Linked DNA regions of Homo sapiens: regions 2 and 3 are each linked to region 1. Evidence: promoter capture Hi-C in 16 types of primary human blood cells and fetal thymus (Javierre and others, 2016). All regions are on one chromosome and are shown on one strand. The core of a region is centred on a gene start or on the middle of the fragment in contact, and the rest is flanking DNA. Distances in the headings are between cores, read along the strand shown. Region 1 holds the start of AACS (acetoacetyl-CoA synthetase). Region 2 overlaps LOC105370050 (a long non-coding RNA gene). Region 3 holds the start of TRA-TGC3-2 (tRNA-Ala (anticodon TGC) 3-2).

The links. Contacts are between HindIII fragments. The CHiCAGO score rates a contact against its expected background, and 5 or more counts as called.
Region 2: a contact is called between a fragment that was not itself captured here and the fragment with the promoter of AACS in region 1, in 1 of 17 cell types (neutrophils). The highest score is 5.6, in neutrophils.
Region 3: a fragment that was not itself captured here is called in contact with the fragment with the promoter of AACS in region 1 in 1 of 17 cell types (neutrophils); the score reaches 5.8 in neutrophils.

What each region holds. Positions count from the first base shown.
Region 1 is chr12:125,063,901-125,067,218 of GRCh38, forward strand. It overlaps AACS (acetoacetyl-CoA synthetase), which reads left to right and starts at 1,535. Exons shown (of 18, transcript NM_023928.5): 1 at 1,535-1,817. The coding sequence starts at 1,685. It overlaps LOC105370052 (a long non-coding RNA gene), which reads right to left. Exons shown (of 4, transcript XR_001749365.2): 3 at 1,103-1,210. RefSeq lists a silencer at 1,176-1,795. The HindIII fragment of the contact is 11,218 bases long and covers 1-3,318 here.
Region 2 is chr12:124,865,534-124,868,851 of GRCh38, forward strand. It overlaps LOC105370050 (a long non-coding RNA gene), which reads left to right. Exons shown (of 3, transcript XR_945488.3): 1 at 1-71; 2 at 1,065-1,143. Among named protein-coding and RNA genes, the nearest start is that of SCARB1, 3.3 kb to the left of the region's middle. RefSeq lists enhancers at 366-535, 964-2,163. The HindIII fragment of the contact is 4,035 bases long and covers 1-3,318 here.
Region 3 is chr12:124,919,384-124,922,701 of GRCh38, forward strand. TRA-TGC3-2 (tRNA-Ala (anticodon TGC) 3-2) reads right to left here and starts at 2,443; the gene lies at 2,372-2,443. RefSeq lists enhancers at 1,649-1,838, 1,674-2,352, 1,919-2,238 and a cis regulatory region at 1,894-2,064. The HindIII fragment of the contact is 6,001 bases long and covers 1-3,318 here.

The DNA of each region.
Region 1 (3,318 bases), core at 285-2,784:
TCCATTGTCATGGAAGCAGGAAACCTTGCCTTCCTTGTTGGAAGCAAGTAAAACTGCAAAGAAAAGAGTTGTACAGCAAAATAAACTTTAGATCTCCACCAAATTTTGGGAGATCAGGGAGGCTCTGGAGGGGGTGCTCTCAGACCTGGGCTCACTCTTGTAATCCCAGCACTTTGGGAGGCCGAGGCGGGTGGATCACCTGAGGTCAGGACTTCAAGACCAGCCTGGCCAACATGGTGAAATCCCGTCTCTACAAAAATGCAAAAATGAGCCGGGCTCGGTAGCTCACGCCTGTAATTCCAGCACTTTGGGAGGCTGAGGCGGGCGGATCACCTGAGGCCGGGAGTTGGAGACCAGCCTGACCAACATGGAAAAACCCTGTCTGTACTAAAAATACAAAATTAGCCAGGCGTGGTGGCACATGCCTGTAATCCCAGGTACTCGAGAGGCTGAGGCAGGAGAATTGCTTTAACCTGGGAGATGGAGGTTGCCGTGTGCCGAGATCTCGCAATTGCACTCCAGCCTGGGTAACAAGAGCGAAACTTCGTCTCAAAAAAACAAAACAAACAACAACAACAACAAAAAAAAAAACACGAAAAATTAGCTGGGCATGATGGCGTGTGCCTGTAATCCCAGCTACTCAGGAGGCTGAGGCAGGAGAATCGCTTGAACCTGGGAAGCAGAGGTTACAGTGAGCTGAGATTGGGACATTGCACTCCAGCCTGGGCGACTGAGTGAGACTCAAAAAAAAAAAAAAAGCTAAGGCGGGGAGGGGGCCTTCCAGGTCATAGGTAGATAAGGGACAAATGGCTGCATTCTTTTGAGTTTTCAATTAGCCTCTGCAAAGGAGGCAATCAGGTGTGCATTTAACTCAGCAGAGGGGTGACTTTGAATAGAATGGAGGCAGGTTAGCCCTAAGCAGTTCCCAGCTTTTCTTTTCCCTTTAGCTTAGTAGTGGGGCCCCAAGATTTATTTTCCTTTCACAAATGTGTATTTTGATACCCATTGGCATACTATGTATATTATTGTATTATACTATGACATTATCTTGTGTATGTACACGATGTACTTATTTGTTAATCGTCTCCCGTCTTCCTCACACCTGTACCCCTCCTCTCCTGTTGACAGAGAACAAGAATTTTGTTTTGTTCGCTGCTGTATCCGCAAAGCTCCCAAAGTCCTCCGAATGCCGCAGGCTCTCAGTAAAGACCTGCAGGAAGAAATAGCGAATGAATGATGTACACGTGTAGGAAACAGCGGGCTCGGACGCCTGGCTTCTCCGGCTGCCCTAACGCCCTCCAGCTCCAGGTGAGGTCGGGGAGCTGGGGCCAAGGCTCGTGAGCGCCCCTCACCCCCACGCCCCCCGGCCGCGGGCGCTGGAGCCGGCGGCTGCGAGCACTCCTTTGAGCGGCGCTGCACTCAGCGGAGGGTTACAGGCGGGAGGGCGGGGCCTGGAAGGGGGCGGGGATTCGAGGCGGGGCCTGCGGGGCGGGGCCTGGGCCAAGCGGCCCGCAGGAGGCGGCGGCGGCCGTTCAGTCCCTTGTTCCCCGCCGCCGCCGTCGCTGACCCAGCCCGCCAGGCGCTCCTGACCGTCGCTTCCTCCGGTCCCAGGTCCCCGGCCCTCGCCTCAGCCCCGGCCCCTGGTCCCCAGCCCTCGTCGCAGCCCCGGCCGCCCGCCGCCGCCATGTCCAAGGAGGAGCGCCCCGGTCGGGAGGAGATCCTGGAGTGCCAGGTGATGTGGGAGCCTGACAGTAAGAAGAACACGCAGATGGACCGCTTCCGGGCGGCTGTGGGCGCCGCCTGCGGCCTGGCGCTGGGTGAGAGTCGGGCGCGCGGCCGGGCCTGCGGGGGATGGGCGGGAGCCGTGCAGGGTGGTTGGGTGGTCTCCCCATGGCTAGTTTCACGCTTCTGGGGCTGGAGGAGCCACTTGATGGCGGGGAGGCCTTCTGACTGCGGGGTTCCCCCCAGTCTTGGGGAACATCACCCCTCCACAGCACCTCCTGGCACTTCCTGACTCTGCAGCGTCTCCTCTGCATGTGGGGGTCACCCTCTCCCCGGGAGTGTCACCCCTCGGGAGGGCCAGCTGCCTGTTGACCGTGTGACCCCTTGCTAGGCTTTCCTACCTGTGAGGTGCTCCCTGGAGTCTTGACCTCCGGCCTGTGGGGGCTTCCCCCGGACATAGGGCCTTTTTGACTTGCAGCTCTTCCTCTGTTTGTGGGGGTCCCTTGCCAGTCCCCAGTGCCGTGCACTCTGTCCCCCTGACCTCCCTCATCTCCAGCTGCCCCTGCTGGAGGCCAGCACCTAGCAGGATGGTCAGGCAGGAGGCCCTGTCCACGTGTCTACACTCCCAGCCCCCAAACAGAACCTAGTAAAAGACTCTCTTTCCACCCATCACCTTGAACCTCAGAAACTGCCTCTCTCGGTGCGGGTGGGGCAAAGGCTCCTTCTCCGTGGGGTAACCGCTCCGGGTGCTCTTCCTGAGCTCTAGCTGGCTTGCCCAACTACCAGCTCCACCCCTCCACCCTGCCTCCCCTAGGTATTCCTAGGGGATTTTTTTTTTTTTTTTTTGAGACAGTTTCTCTCTCGTTGCCCAGGCTGGAGTGCAATGGCGAGATCTCGGCACACTGCAACCTCCGCCTCCCGGGTTCAAGTGATTCTCCTGCCTCAGCCTCCCGAGTAGCTGGGATTACAGGCATACACCACCACGCCTGGCTAATTTTGTATTTTTAGTAGAGACGGAGTTTCTCCATGTTGGTCAGGCTGGTCTCGAACTCCTGACCTCAGGTGATCCGATCGCCTTGGCCTCCCAAAGTGCTGGGATTACAGGTGTGAGCCACGGCGCCTGGCCTCCTAGGGGATTTTTAACTCATGGTCTCCCCTCCTCACCCCCTCCGCTGGCGCAGGGACTCCCTTGTTTCTGTTGGTGGCGTCACTGTTCTTGCTCAGGCTCACAGGGATGGACACCCCAGTCACCTGTGGCACCAGAAGTCTTCTGCCACAGCCCCATGTCGCTCACATCTCCTCCTTTGCAGCCCCTTGTCAGGGGTTCTGGGGCCTCCTTTCCTCCTCACCAAACAGTGGTTGGTTTTCCTGCTTCCTGCTTTTCCATCCATTTGCATCCTGCTTGCTTTGCCAGAGTAATCTTGAAGCATACAGGTCTTACTTTGTCACTCCTTGGCTCAGAAGTTCTCAGTGGTTCCTTGTTGACCACAAAATTGCAGACGGCTGCCTGGCAGCTTCCAGGCCCTCCACAGCAGTGGGGAGCTTCCACAGAGTCATTTTCCTAGGCTAACCCAGAGCTGTTCCTCTCCTTCCCTT
Region 2 (3,318 bases), core at 379-2,878, 200 kb before region 1:
CTGGGGGAAAAAGAAAAAAGAAAAAAGGGAGAGAAGTGGGCTGGCACTAAGTGGCAGTTGCCCTTAGATGGGTGAGTGTATCCCTGAAGCCCTCCACGCCCCCCTGAAGTCCTCCACCACACCCCACCTGGCCTGCCTTCTGGTCCCTGAAGTGCTGGCCAGTCCCCTCATTTTCTGAATGAAGTTACTGAGAAGAGACTCCTGGGTTACACAGGGACAGGAGGGTGGTGTCCCCAGCACGTGGGTAAGGCAGGCTCAGTCCTTGAGTGCTCCGAGGGAGGCTTTCTAAACCTCTTATTTAACTCCAGAAGAAAGCAGCCTTCTCGCAGGGCCATCCTTAAGCAACATGTCTTCGCCTGAACCAATATTTACAGAGCACCTGCTATGTTCTCGTTAGACAGCTTTGCCTGGCACTGCCTTCCTCTAAGGAGGCCGAATATGGTCCAGTGCCCCAAGGGGCAGGGCCCAACTCCTGAGGGAGGTCAGAGTGGCTGAGGTGAGACTGTGGTAGCCCCGGGGGACAGGTTCAGAGAAATCCAGGCTCTGGGGTTTCCCACATTGGAGTCCTGGGGCAAGTGGTTTGGGCCTTTCTGTGCCTCAGTCTCCTCATCTACGAAACGGGGATTAGAAGAGCCCCTTTCCAAGGGCTACCATGAGGATTAAACAAGTCAAAAAATGTGCCAGTGCTTAGAACAGTCCCTGGAATGTGTCAGTGCAACTGAGCTGGGGAGTGTCGTCGTTATTTTCCGGACCCACATGAACTGGCGCCTGCCCATCTCTCTGCCTCCATCTCCTGCCCTCTCCCCCATTGTTTCAGTTCATTGAGCATCCCCAGCTTTTTCTTGTGTCAGGAACTTTGCACTTCCTGTTCCTCTGTCTAGGATACGCTTCCCCTAGATCCTTCCATGGCTCCCCACTCTCCTCTTCTGGGCTCAGCTGAAACCCACTCCTCAGAGAAGCCTTTGCTGTTGCATCTGTTGAAAACAGGAGTCCCAGCCCACTCTGTCAGGCCACCTTGCTTTGTGTGAAATGGTCTTATCTGTTTCCTTGTTCATCTCCTCCAGCTCCCGAGAGACAGAAGCTGACCCTGTTTTGCTTATCGATGTATCTCCAGCACCTGGAAAAATGCCTGGCACATAGCAGGTACTCAATAAATACTTTACTCAATCAGCTAATTAACTCATTAATTAATCAAGTAACTGATCGATTGATTAATTAATTAATATCACTTCATTGAATTCCTTAAGGCCTTCAACAGCCTTCAGCTATGCAGTTGCCTTTTTTTTTAATGACTTTTGTAGTTCTCGGAAATTAGCCAGTTAACTAAAATCTGCGGTCTGCCTGGCCCTGACACCCTCCTCCACTTCCTTGATACTGACCTGCCTTGACCATCTCACCCAATCTAACTCTGATTCATGACCAAGTCTTCAAGGTCCAAATGTACGTGATGCTTACCCAAGAGGGCTGCAAGGCCATGGCTGGAGAGCCCTCATGTCACGCCATGCTGTCACTCGAGAGAGAAGGGCAGAGATGAAAGGGTGATGGGACACGTGAGCCACCTTGGCCTTGCTGAGGGGAGTCACTTCCGGTGGCAGGGAGGGCAGCTTAAGAAGGGAAAAAAAGACTTCGTCATGTTTGAGAGAGAGGTCTTGCCCTGGGGAAAGTCGAAGATACAGAAGAAAAGAAAGAGTGCTGATAACAAAATATGATCAACATGGTGTCACAGGGCTCCTGGAAAATCAAGTCAGATGCTTTTCCTCCTCTGCTCAGAGTCCTTTCGTGATCAAAGACGGAGAATGACTGCAGGCAAAGACCTGGAGGAGTTGGAAGCCTCTTGAGGTGCTTGTGGGATTGTAAAATGGTGCAGCCTCAAAAGGTAAACATAGGGGTCCCCTAAGACCCAGCAGTTCCACTCCTGGGTATATGCCCAGGAGAAAGGAAAGAGCATGTCCACACGGAAGCCTGGACACAAATGTTCACAGCAGCCAAGCAGTGAAAATAACCCACACCCCCATCAGCTGGTGAATAGGTAAATAAAATGTGGCATAACCACGCACTGGAATATGACTCAGCATAAAAAGGAATGAAGGGCTGACGCGTGCTACACCATGGATGAACCTTGAAAACATTGATAAGTGAAAGAAGCCAGACACAAAGGCCACATGTATGATTCTGCTTATATAAAATGTCCATAGTAGGCACATCTATGGGGACAAAAAGTAGACCAGTGGTTGCCAGGGGCTGGGGAGAATGAGGAGTGACTGCTACAGGTTTGGGGTTTCATCTTGGAGTGGTGAAAATGTTCTAAAAGTGACGGTAAAAGTGATGGTAATGATGGTTGCACAACTCCGTGAATATACAAAAAACCATCAAATTACACACTTTATTTACTTTTTCTTTTTTTCAAGAGACAGGGTCTCACTCTGTCACCCAGGCTGGAGTGCAGTCTTGAAGTCTTGGGTTCAAACCATCCTCCCGCCTCGGCCTCCTGACTAGCTTGGACAACAAGTATATGCCACTATGTACACCTGATGTTTTCATTTTTGTTGAGACAGGGTCTCACTTTGTTGCCCAGGCTGCTCTCAAAATTCTGGTCATCCTCCCACCCTGGCCTCCCAAAGCGCTGGGATTACAAGTGTGAGCCATCATGCCTGGCCAAATTATATACTTTAAATGGGTGAATGTATGATATGCAAATTATATCTCAATGAAAACTGTTATTTTAAAGAAATGGCCAGGCATGGTGGCCCATGCCTATAATCCCAGTGCTTTTGGAGGCTGAGGCAGGAGGATCCCTTGAGGCCAGGAGTTCGAGATCAGCCTGGGCAACACAGCCAGACACCATCTCTACAAAAAATAAAAAGTTAGCCAGGTAAAGTGGCACACACCTCTAGTTTCAGCTACTGAGGAGGCTGAGGTGGGAGAATCACGTGAGCCCAGGAAGTCGAGGCTGCAGTGAGTGAGCTGTGATTGTGTCACTGCACTCCAGCCTGGGCAACACAGTGAGACCCTGTCTCTCAAGAAAACAAAAAGAAAGAAACCTTTCCGTGGCTCCCACCTCATTCAGCATAAAAGCCAAAGCCCTCACCATGGCCCACAAGATCACCACATCTCATACTAGAGAGACAAAGTCAAAACGCACCCAGATGGGCACATCTCCCTGACCTCATCCCCCTCCCTCTCCTTGCCCACTCTGCTCCAGCCACATCCTCCTCCCTGGAGCTCCTCCACCTGTTGCCCGGCTCGTGCCCCAGAACCTTTGCACTCCCTGGTCCCCTCCTGGAATGCTCCTCTCCCTAACACCCAGGAGACTCACCC
Region 3 (3,318 bases), core at 560-3,059, 140 kb before region 1:
AAAGAGATCTGACCTCACTGACTCCATCTCGCGTCTAACCTCCAAACTGTCTTTGTTCATTCCTAGGTGTAGGCTGAACTGACTTTGGAGGAGCTTAGTTTATAGTTTAATTCTGAAACAAAGGTGATAGCCTTTTCCTAAAACAAGCCCCCTTCCTGCCTGCGCACTAGACTGCTTTGCAGGACTAACAAATTGGCCACAAGATTACAAATTATGGTTTAGGAGTCACGCAGCTGGAGACTGCAAGATTCTGTCCATGCTGAAATTGCTCCTGAGGATAACATCACTATTGTAAAACCTAAGACCAGTGCTTGAGATATTTTGCATACTCTGCACTCAGTGGGCCGACTGACACCACCCAGATTGATAAACTGGCTCATCTGGTCTTGTGGCCCCCACCTAGGAACTGACTCAGGGCAAAGGGACAGCTTCGACTCCCTGTGATTTCATCTCCGACCCAACCAATCAGTACTCCCGATTTCCCGACCTCCCTACACACCAAATTATCCTTCAAAACTCCAATCCCTGAGTTTTCAGGGAGACTGATTTGAGTAATAGTAAAACTCCCGTCTCCCACACTGCCAGCTGTGTGTGAATTAAACGTTCTCTATTATGGCAGGGCGAGGTGGCTTGCGCCTGTAATCCCAGCACTTCGGGAGGCTGAGGTGGGCGGATCACAGTTTCCCTGTCCTAATAAATGGGCTCTGTCTAGGCAGCGGGCAAGGAGAAACTGTTGGGCAGTTACAGAAGCATGTAAGTTTTGTGTTAGGCCTGATGACTTCAGAAATTATCTTCAATGATTTTCCCCTAAAACCTTGTTGACATTTAGGGAGAAATAACCTTTCCTGAAGCTCATTAGAAACAAGCTGTCACCAATGCGTCACCACCTAACTGGTGAGTCAGTTCGCAAGTTTCATTTTCTTCATCTCAAAAATGAAAGCTCTAGATCTAGGATTAGACGCTTTTACCATTTAAAACATGAAGTCAAGTCAAATGAAAGAAAGGGGCTGACAGGTGAGGAATTCATTATAATTGCAAAGAACTGTACCACAGAATGCAGCCGAATCCCTTCTTTCATTCTTATTATTATTTAGAGAGCTGGGAACTGGTTAAACTTTAAAAAATATAATTTATTTTTATGTATTTATTTTTGCCTAAAGATCATTCATGCAAGTAAATCAATCTCCCCTCCCCTCCCCTTCCCCTTTCCCTCCCCTTCCCCTTCCTTTCCTTTCCTTTCCTTTCCGAGCCAAGGTCTCCCTTTGTTGCCCAGGCTGCTTTCAAACTCCTGGCCTCAAGCAATTCTCCTGCCTCATGCCTCCCAAAGTGCTGGGATTACAGGCCTGAGCCACCATCTTTTGCTTTCAGTGATAAAACACAGAAACACAGTGGAGGTGAAAGCAACTCCATCTTGGTTGCTAATCCACCAAGATAACTTCCGATTAATGCCTCTTCCAGGAAGGTCTCTAAGATTTCTACTTTACTGTTACCATAAATTCTGCCCTTAGATCAGAACAACCTAGATCATAAATCCTTCCCTTATGCGGATTCACATAACATTCTTGCCTTGCTTGAGGGGTCAACTTCAATTGTCCTACATATATTCCTTCCCTATGGTATGGAAGCCCTGGGCCGGGGGTTATGGCGCAGCAAACCTTATATCCTCTGATGACCACCCTGAGACTATGGCTTCTGTTGGTAAGTCCCTAATAAATGTTTTTTCCTGAGAAACTGGGTTTGTCAACCCCTTTCTTTGGCCTCTCAGCTCCCTTGGCCTTTGGGGTAGGTTTGCATAGGCCTGCTCACCCCGGAACACAGTGTATGAATATAAATGTAAATTGCACTTGCATTACAGCCGTGGAGACGTGTTGCTGAGGAAGCAGAGAGCAAAGCCCCGCTGGGATGTGAGTTTGCTTCTGGGTTCCTCCCATGCAAATGAGGTGGTTCGTGGCAGTGCAGAGGAGGAGTGAGATGGCAAACAGGGGGGCCCAGACCTTCCAGCAACTTACACACTTGCCCTCTGATGGCCAAGAATGCGTCAACAGCCCTCGAGGCCAGTGCAGTACAATCATGGTGGCACGAGATGTGGTGTACACTCCCCAAATGATCATCCTGCTCACTTTTGCTGTGGTTTCAGTCATCAAGTCAGGTTTTGCCTTAACACTTTTCTGCTGATTACTCCCATCAGCCTCTTCTAACTCATGTGCATTTGAAACATTAGAGATTTCAGAATGGGAAGATCACACCTGGTGTGAGAATCTGAGCTCCAAGTAGTGCCTGGAATCACAATGCTTATGATAATCACATCCATGGCACTTTAATGATAAAGAACCACGGACCAAAACGAATACAGAAAGCAACAAAACTACAATGGAGATGCCGGGGATCGAACCCGGGGCCTCATACATGCAAAGCATGCGCTCTACCACTGAGCTACATCCCCCTCCCTTTCCTGTACTTGCTTTTGGAAGTCCTTGCTATACTCTATTCTTAAAGGCGTTTTTCCTGTTTCCACGTGTTTCATTTTTATTTTTGGTTTTTATTATTGTTTGGACGCATAACAATTGTGCACATTTATGAGGTGTGGTGTGATGTTGTGATCTATGTACACAATTTGTAATGTTCAAATCAGGGCAATGACCACATCCATCCCTTCAAACATGTATCATTTCTCTGTGCTGGGAGACATTAAAAATCCACGCTTCCAGCTATTTGAAAACGTACAATAAGTTGTTGTATTCACTCTATAGGGACACTGGAACTTATTCCTCCTATTCAGCTGTACTTTTGTATCCAGTAACCCCCCTTTGGCTATCCCACCTCCCCCCACCTTCACTACCTGCAGTAACCACTATTCTCTCTGTGAGACCAACTATTTCAGCTTCCGCACGTGAGTGAGATCATGCAGTATTTATCTTTCTGTGCCCGGTTTATTTCACTTTATGTAATGTCGCCCAAACTTAGCCATGTTTTTATTTTTGTTTCGTAGAGGAAAAATGACAGGATTTCATTTTGTTTTGTATTTTTTTAAGGTCGAATAGTATTCTATTGCGTATGTACACATTTTCTCTATCCATGTATCTGTTGACGGACACATCTAGGCACTTATGAATAAAGCTGCAATACACACGGGAGTGCGAGAGGCTTTTAGTTTTTGGTTGGTTGGTTTGTTTTGAGACAGAGTTTTGCTCTGTCGCCCAGGCTGGAGTGCAGTGGCATGATCTGGGCTCACTGCAACCTCCGCCTCCTGGGTTCAAGCGATTCTCCTGCCTCAGCCTCCCGAGTAGCTGGGACTACAGGCGTGCACCACCACGCCTG